2 separate regions of the Homo sapiens genome follow, and region 2 is linked to region 1. Evidence: promoter capture Hi-C in 16 types of primary human blood cells and fetal thymus (Javierre and others, 2016). All regions are on one chromosome and are shown on one strand. The core of a region is centred on a gene start or on the middle of the fragment in contact, and the rest is flanking DNA. Distances in the headings are between cores, read along the strand shown. Region 1 holds the start of DORIP1 (dopamine receptor interacting protein 1). Region 2 overlaps LRFN5 (leucine rich repeat and fibronectin type III domain containing 5).

Evidence for each region. The method cuts DNA at HindIII sites, captures the fragments that hold promoters and counts their contacts. A CHiCAGO score of 5 or more calls a contact.
Region 2: a contact is called between a fragment that was not itself captured here and the fragment with the promoter of DORIP1 in region 1, in 2 of 17 cell types (naive CD8 T cells and naive CD4 T cells). The highest score is 6.3, in naive CD8 T cells.

The regions. Positions count from the first base shown.
Region 1 is chr14:44,894,715-44,898,648 of GRCh38, forward strand. DORIP1 (dopamine receptor interacting protein 1) reads left to right here and starts at 2,561. Exons shown (of 5, transcript NM_001017923.2): 1 at 2,561-2,854. RefSeq lists enhancers at 2,206-2,255, 2,880-3,379 and silencers at 2,746-2,875, 2,896-3,215. The HindIII fragment of the contact is 3,873 bases long and covers 2,220-3,934 here.
Region 2 is chr14:41,738,923-41,742,855 of GRCh38, forward strand. The region is part of intron 1 of LRFN5 (leucine rich repeat and fibronectin type III domain containing 5); the gene reads left to right. It also overlaps the pseudogene FKBP1BP1. Among named protein-coding and RNA genes, the nearest start is that of LRFN5, 130 kb to the left of the region's middle. The HindIII fragment of the contact is 995 bases long and covers 1,697-2,691 here.

The DNA.
Region 1 (3,934 bases), core at 1,311-3,810:
AAGCTCCGCCCCCCTGGTTCACGCCATTCTCCTGCCTCAGCCTCCCAAGTAGCTGGGACTACAGGTACCCGCCACCATGCCCGGCTAATTTTTTATATTTTTAGTAGAGACGGGGTTTCACCATGTTAGCCAGGATGGTCTCGATCTCCTGATCTTGTGATCCGCCCGCCTCGGCCTCCCAAACTGCTGGGATTACAGGCGTGAGCTACTGCGCCCAAGCTGCGCAACTAATTTTTGACAAAAGCACAAAAGCAACCCAGTGGAAAAAGTACAGGCTTTTCAAAAAAAAAATTGCTGCGATGACTGGGTATCCATACATCAAATATGAACTTGGATACATGCCTCAAACTATATAAGAAAGTTAACTACAATGCATCATACATCTAAATGTACAGCTTGAACACATAAAACTTTTATAAGAAAACATAGGAAAATTTCTTTGTGAGCTTGGGGTAGGCAAAAATTTCTTAGAAACAACACTAGAAATGTAATCCATAAAATAATAAATAAATTAAACTTTATTAAAAGTTAAAACTTCTCTTCAAAATACACTGCTAAGAGAATGAGGGCCAGGTGTGGTGGCTCACGCCTGTAATCCCAGCACTTTGGGAGGCCGAGGTGGGCAGATCACCTGAGGCCAGGAGTTTGAGACCAGCCTGGCCAACATGGTGAAACTCTGCCTCTACTAAAAATACAAAAATTAGCTAGGCATGGTGGTGCACGTCTATAATCCCAGCTACTCGGAAAGCTGAGATACCAGAAACTCTTGATCCTGGGAGGCGGAAGTTGCAATAAGCCGAGATCATTCACTGCACTCCAGCCTGGGTAACAGATCAGGATTCTGAAAAAAAAAAAAAAAAAAAAAAAAAAAAAAGGCAGAGTTGGGGGGCGGTAGGTAAGCAGAAACTTAAGTGTGATGGGCATACTCATTTGATCACAGTGATGGTTTAAGGGGTTATACATATGTCAAAACTGATAAAAATTATACACTTTAAGTATGCTCTATATATTCTATGCCAATTATACTTCAGTAAATATATCTAAAAAAACCCTACAACTCAGATGTCAGATTTTGAAGACGGTGGAAAAGATGCAGAATGGAAATTTCAGTTAAAGGCCTCAGTGATGTTTGTGAGTTATCCAAGTATTCAAGGAATCCATGCTTCCTCCATCTAGCTGAGACTCGGCAGAGTTTAATGAGCAATCTCAATACTATTCTCCAGAAATGGTGTCATCCACCATACTATGGCTGTTTTCAGGAAGAGAATGACCTAATCAGTATAAAATGAACTCCATGTCTTGTGAGAGATTTATAATTAAACACATAATCCACATTTACAAACATTTTTAAAGGGCTTTTCTACCTGTAGGAGAGGATTAATATTGAGAGTGAACTTTTTGCAAGTTTTCCAACACACTAGTTTATCTCTAAGAGCCTCAGTTTCCTCATCTATAAAATACCATAAGAAATAAGAAAAAACAGGAAACTAAAAAGAGCAGGCTTTGCCAGAGCTATTAATTATTCTTTTTTGGGCAGAGCCAAAACTCAAGAAATGGAAGTCTCTCTTCCATTTCTAGACTTTTTTAGAGAGATCCATGAGGAAGTTCCCCTCCATAGCTTTGGCCGACCATCACACCGGTCAAGAAGGCATCCAGCCTCTCCCAGGCTCAGCCTGTGACGGAAAACCACACTGATTTACTAGGATAGCCTTGAGCTCTCTCATTAGCCCTCACGTGTTCTGAACGTTAGAGCTAACTTTCCAGACCCTCATTATTTGTTGAAAGGCTGGATGGGGAAAATCTCAACCAGATCTCCATGCCTACTTGCAAGGAGAGGTAGTTTTTGCAGGGTGGCCTGTGTTCTCCAGATGCAGAGCCATACAGGGCCTTGCTTCTTTACGGGAGATACAAAAACTCGGCCCTAATAAACAGAAATAGTGGTTGAGCCCACAAACTAGCATTAAGTTGTCCTAACTGTAATTTCCAGCTCCGTCACTTGCTGTGTGGGACCTTATTATCTCCAAAACCCAATTTTTTCAACTTCACAATGGAATTAAAACAATCTAATTTTTCAAAATGGGGTTAACTTCCACTGTAAGTTACAGTATATTGGCCAATAATTAACTTGAACACTAAAGCTGGCATTTAACAGATCAATTCAACTGTTTTCTAAGTAAATACTTAAACGCTTAAAAAACCGTAATTTACTGAGAAAACAAAGCTTTCTTTCTAGGTTAAGAATTTGAGAAAACAAGACCCAGAAGCAAACTAAAATCAAGTCCTAAAATGGTACAAACCTCAAAAAGCCAATCAGGTTTGCCAATAAAGCTCCGCCTCCGTGCAAACTCTGCCCACTTCCGGCTTCCCCACCCACCTTCTACCAGTGGAACCCCGCCCCTCTCTGCGAGGTCCCGCCCCCCACACCTGATCCTGGTTCCCATTGGGCGAATCTGGATGCTGTATACACAGCCGACACACGCACATTAGGCTGGGGCGTCTTCGCGCCTGCGCAGCTGCGCTGTCAGGCGGCTGAAAACGGGGGGGTTGGGGGGAGGGGGGCGGAGGTCGTGCCGAATCTTCCTCCGTAATAAGAAGCGACGTGTCCCACTGTCCTGGCTCCGTGGGTCCAGTGAGATTGGGCCTGGGCGCTGGAGCTGCTGTGGCTCCCGCCGCGGCGGCTGCCATGGAGGCCATGCCAGAGCCCAGAACTCACGCCGGGGGAGGCCGAGACAGCCGGCGGTACTCATAGATGAGGCAGCGGCGGCGGCGGCGGCGGCGGCAGCCCGGGCTCTCCATGAGCAGGCGGCGGCGGCGACGGGTGCGGCGGCACCGGCAGTTTTCGGTCCCCAGGGAGGTACGAGGAGTTTGCTTCCTGGTGGACGGAGACTGGCCGGTGTGGGAACGCCTTCCGCGGCCCGGCCCTCCAGCCTATTTGTCCGCAGTTCTGAGCACTCGGCGGGGCACTGCCCGGGCAGAGGCGGGGGCGCCCAGCCGACTCGCGGGCCCCTAACTCGGGGACCCGCCCGCCTCGGTGCCAGGCCTCCCGGGCGCGGCTGCCCAGGGCCAGGGTGGGCGTGGCCGGAACGTGGGGGCTCCCCGGGGGCGCACGCCTAGCGTCCGCCTTGTCCCTGTCCCGAAGTCCCGCGCTGCTGGGAGCGGTAGCGCGTGGCTGTACAGGCGTATTTTAGGCGCTGATTTGAGAGGGGACTTTTAGAATCCCTGAGTCCTTAGGGAGTCTGGCGTTCAATGCCTTGGGCATGTGGTGGGGTCCTCACGGCTAGCTTGGGGTACCAATTTCCTCCCTTGGAAGTCACCACGAAAGAAAGATGTTTTGTCAAAGAAATAGAGGTCAGGAGAGTTTTCCAGGTTTATTCAAATTGGAGGGCCCGTAGAGCCTGGAGAATAAAGCCAGCGGAATACATCCTCCAGTCCTTCTAATTACAGTTCCTAGCTAAACAGCTAAGACAATTTTAAGTAAAGCTCTTCACAGCTATCTTTCCATCATTTTTCCCCACCCCTCATTTTTATTGCAATTTACTTTGGAACAAATCACCAAATTCATGATGAAACTAGTATCCTCTAGTTCTTCCAAACCTTCCCTCCTCCCGTTTTTTCCAGAGAAAGACTAAAGTTTCATGCCACATATGTCATTATAGTTTAATTCTCTTAGAGTGTAAGGGTAGTTACACTTCATTTGGTCATGTCTGAAGATAATGTGAAGAAAATATCCTAGAGATTTATGCTTCCTTCCCAATGCACTATTTTAGGAATCCGAACTCAGGCTCTTTAAGCAATCTTAAACCTTGCTACAAAGTTCTTTAAAATTCAACGGAAATAAATCAAACCATAAAGTTATTTTCGTTTTTAAAGTATTTGAATGCATAACTGTTTTTTAAAATCTTTGTAAACAAAACGAATCAGTATCTATTACGAA
Region 2 (3,933 bases), core at 944-3,443, 3.2 Mb before region 1:
AACAGTTCATCTAACAGCAGTGAAATACATATTCTTCTCAAGTATGCACGGAACATTCTCTTCTATAGATCACATGTTAGTCTACAAGTCAATTCTTAACAAATTTAAGAAGAATGAATTTATATTGAATATCATCTGTTGTGACTAAAATGGCAGGAAACTAGAAACCAATAATAGGAGCAGGCTGGACACAGTAGCTCATTCCATAATCCCAGCACTTTGGGAGGCCAAAGTGGGTGGATTGCTTGAACTCAGGAGTCTGAGGCAAGCCTGGGCAACATGGCCAAAGCCCATCTCCACAAAAATACAAAAATAAGCCAGGCATGGTGGCATGTGCCTGTAGTCTTAGCTATTTGGGAGGGTGGCGTGGGAAGATTGTTTGAGCTTGGCTCATCAATGGTTCAGTGAGCTGTCATCACACCACTGCACTCCAGCCTGAGTGGCAGAGCCAGACATTGTGTCAATCATCATCATCATCATCATCATCATCATCATCATCATCTTGAAGAACTCACAAATATGTGGAAATTAAATATCCTTCTTAATGACACATAGGACAAAGGATAAATTAAAAGAAAAAAAAATCTTGAGACAAGGAAAAATGGAAACACAATATACCAAAACTTATGGGATACAGCAAAAACAATCCTTAGAGGGAATTTTATAACAATAAACACCTACATCAAAGAAGAAGAAAGATTTCAAACAACCTAATGTTATACCTCTAGCAACTAGAAAAAAAAAAACAAACTAAGCACAAACGTAGTGGAAGGAAGTAAATAACAAAGATCGGAGCAGAAATAAGCAAAATAGAGACTAGAAAAACAGTAGAAAATATAAATGAAAGTAAAATTGGGGTTTTTTCAAAAGATAAAATTGACAAACCATTAGCTAGACTAACAAGGACAAAGAGAAAGAAGACTCAAATAAAATCCAAATGGAAGGAATCATAACTGATACCACAGAAATGCAAGGGACCTAAAGACTATCATGGACAACTATATAATAAAAAATGAATAACACAGAAAAAATAAAATTCCTAGAAACATGTAATGTACCATGACAAATAAAAAAGAAATAGAAAAATCTGAACAGACTTGTAATAAGTAAGGAGATTGAATCAACAATAAAAAACTTTCAAAAATAAAAATAAAGCCCAGGGCATGATAGCCTCACTGCCAATTCTACCAAACATTTAAATAACTAATATCAGTCCTTCTCAAGATTATCCAGAAAACTGAAATGGAGGGAATACTTCAAAATTTATTTTACAAGGCAAACTTTACCCTAATATTAAAACCATACAAGGACACTACAAGAAAAGAAAACAACAGGCCAAAATCCCTGATAAATATGGAGCAAAAATCCTCAAGAAAACTAGCAAACCAAATTCAGAAGCACATAAAATATTTATTAACTTTGATAAAATGAGATTTATTCCACAAGAGAAAGGATGGCTCAATGCACATAAATCAATAAATGAGTTACACTATATTAACAAAATGAAGAAGAAAATCATATGATACAGAAAAAAACATTTTCTCAATAGATACAGAAAAAACATTTGACTACATTTAACATCTGATCATGATAAAAGCTCTCAACAAATAGGTATTGAAATAATGTACCTGAACATAATAAAATACATATATTACAAGCCCACAGTTAATATCATATTAAACAGTGAAAAGTTGAAAGCTTTTCTTCTAAGATTAGGAAATAGAAAAGGATGCTCACTGTCATCACTTCTATTCATTATAGTATTGGAAGTCCTAGCTAGAACAACTAGATTAGAAAAAAGAAATAAAAGGCCTCCATAAAGGAAAAAAAGAAGTGAAATTGTCAGTGCAAATTGAAATTGGCATCAGGTTTGCCAATGAGGTGATTTTTATTGTAGAAAACCCTAAAGGCTTTATCAAAGACCTATTAGAACTGATTAGTACATTTAATAAAGTTGTAGTTTATGAAAACAAAATTTAAAAAAGAGTACTATTTCTATAAACTAACAACAAACTATCCAAAAAGAAATCAAGAAAATAATTCCATTTACAATAGCATCCAAAAATAAAATTAAATATTTAGGAATACATTTAACTGAAGAGGTGAATGATTGACTATGATGAAAACTATAATAGGTGAAAGAAGTTGAAAAACACACAATATAAAGATAACTCATGTTCATAGGTTGAAAAATTTACTATTTTAAAAACATACATAGTACTCAAAGCAACCTGCAGATTCAATGCAATCTCTATCAGAATTCCAATTTGTTTTTCACAGAAATAGAATAAAAGTCTAATAGAAAAAAATCCTTGAATAGCTGAAGCAATTGAGCAAAAAGAATGAAGTAGGAGGTATCAAATTTCCTGATTTCAAAATAGATTATAAAGCAATTGTAGTCAAAACAGCATGATACTGGCATGAAAGAAGATATATTGATGAATGGAAAAGAATAGAAAGCACAGAAGCAAACCTGACTATTTAAGGTCAATTGATTTTCCACAAAGATAAACACAATGAAGAAAAGACAATCACTTCAATAAATGGTGTTGACAAAACTTTATATCCACATTCAGAAGCATGAAATTGGATCTTTCTGACACACCATATATGAGAATTAATTCAAAACGGACAAAAGACCAATATGAAAGACTGAATCAATAAATCTACTAGAAGAAAATGTAGGGTAAAAGCTTCATAATTTTGGTCTGGGCAAGGATTTCTGGGATGGAACTTCAAAAGCACAGATAAGAAAAGCAAAAATAGACAGAGGATATTGCATCTAACTAAAAAGCTTTGATGCAGCAAAGACAACAATTTACATAGTGGAGAGATAGCCCACAAATTTAGGTAAAATATTTTTAAACCATACATATGGTAAGGGGCTAAAATAAAAAAAAAAAACCAAAAAACTAATTTAGTAATAGACAAAGAATCTGAACAGATATTTCTCCAAAGAAGACATGTGAATGACCAACAGATATATGAAAAAATCCTCAATGTCTCTAATCATCAGGGAAATGAAAATTGAAACCACAATGAGATATCACCTCACACCCATTAAAATGGCTATTACAAAAATTGATAAGTGTTGGTGAGATAACAAGTGTTGGCAAGAAATGGACCCTTTGTACACTGTTGGGGCCAATGTAAATTAATACAATCATTTTGCAAAATAGTATGGAGATTTTCCAAGAACTAAAAGTAGATTCCATATGACCCCAAAAATGTTACTTTTGGATATATAGCCAATGAATCTGAAATCAGCATGTGAACGAGATACCTGTACTTTCATGTTTATTTCAGAATTAGTCACAGTAGCCAAGATATAGAAGCAATAGAAGCAACCTGGTTTTATTAAAAGATTAATGAAGAAAATGTGGTGTGTATACACACACACACACACACACACACACACACACACTAGAATAATATACAGCCATAAAAATAAGGAAATTTTTTTCATTCACAACATGGCTGGAACTGGAGGAATTTATACTAAGTGAATTCAGCCAGTCATAGAAAGACAAATAGTTTATGATCTAACTTATATGTAATATCTAAAAAACTTGATATCATCCTACCTACTGACTTAGGTCCCAACTTCAGCTGCACTTCTTTCATCTCTGCAGTTGTGACAGGAAGATACGTTGGAGCGACTATGTGACTGGGGCGGGAGCCAAACTGGGTTTGGGGCAACATCAGCAATTCCCGTGGATGGGGCTTATGGGGCCATGATGGGTCAAGAAGGACATTCACCAACAAGAGCCAGAAGAGCCAGGTGTGTGTAGCGCACTACATAGGGGTGTTCCAAAATGGGAATAAATTTGATTTATCCGAAGACAGAAACAAACCTTTCAAGTTCAAAACTGGTGAACAGGAAGTCATCAGTGGTTTTGAAGAGTACATAGCGCAGATGAGCTTGGGGCAGAA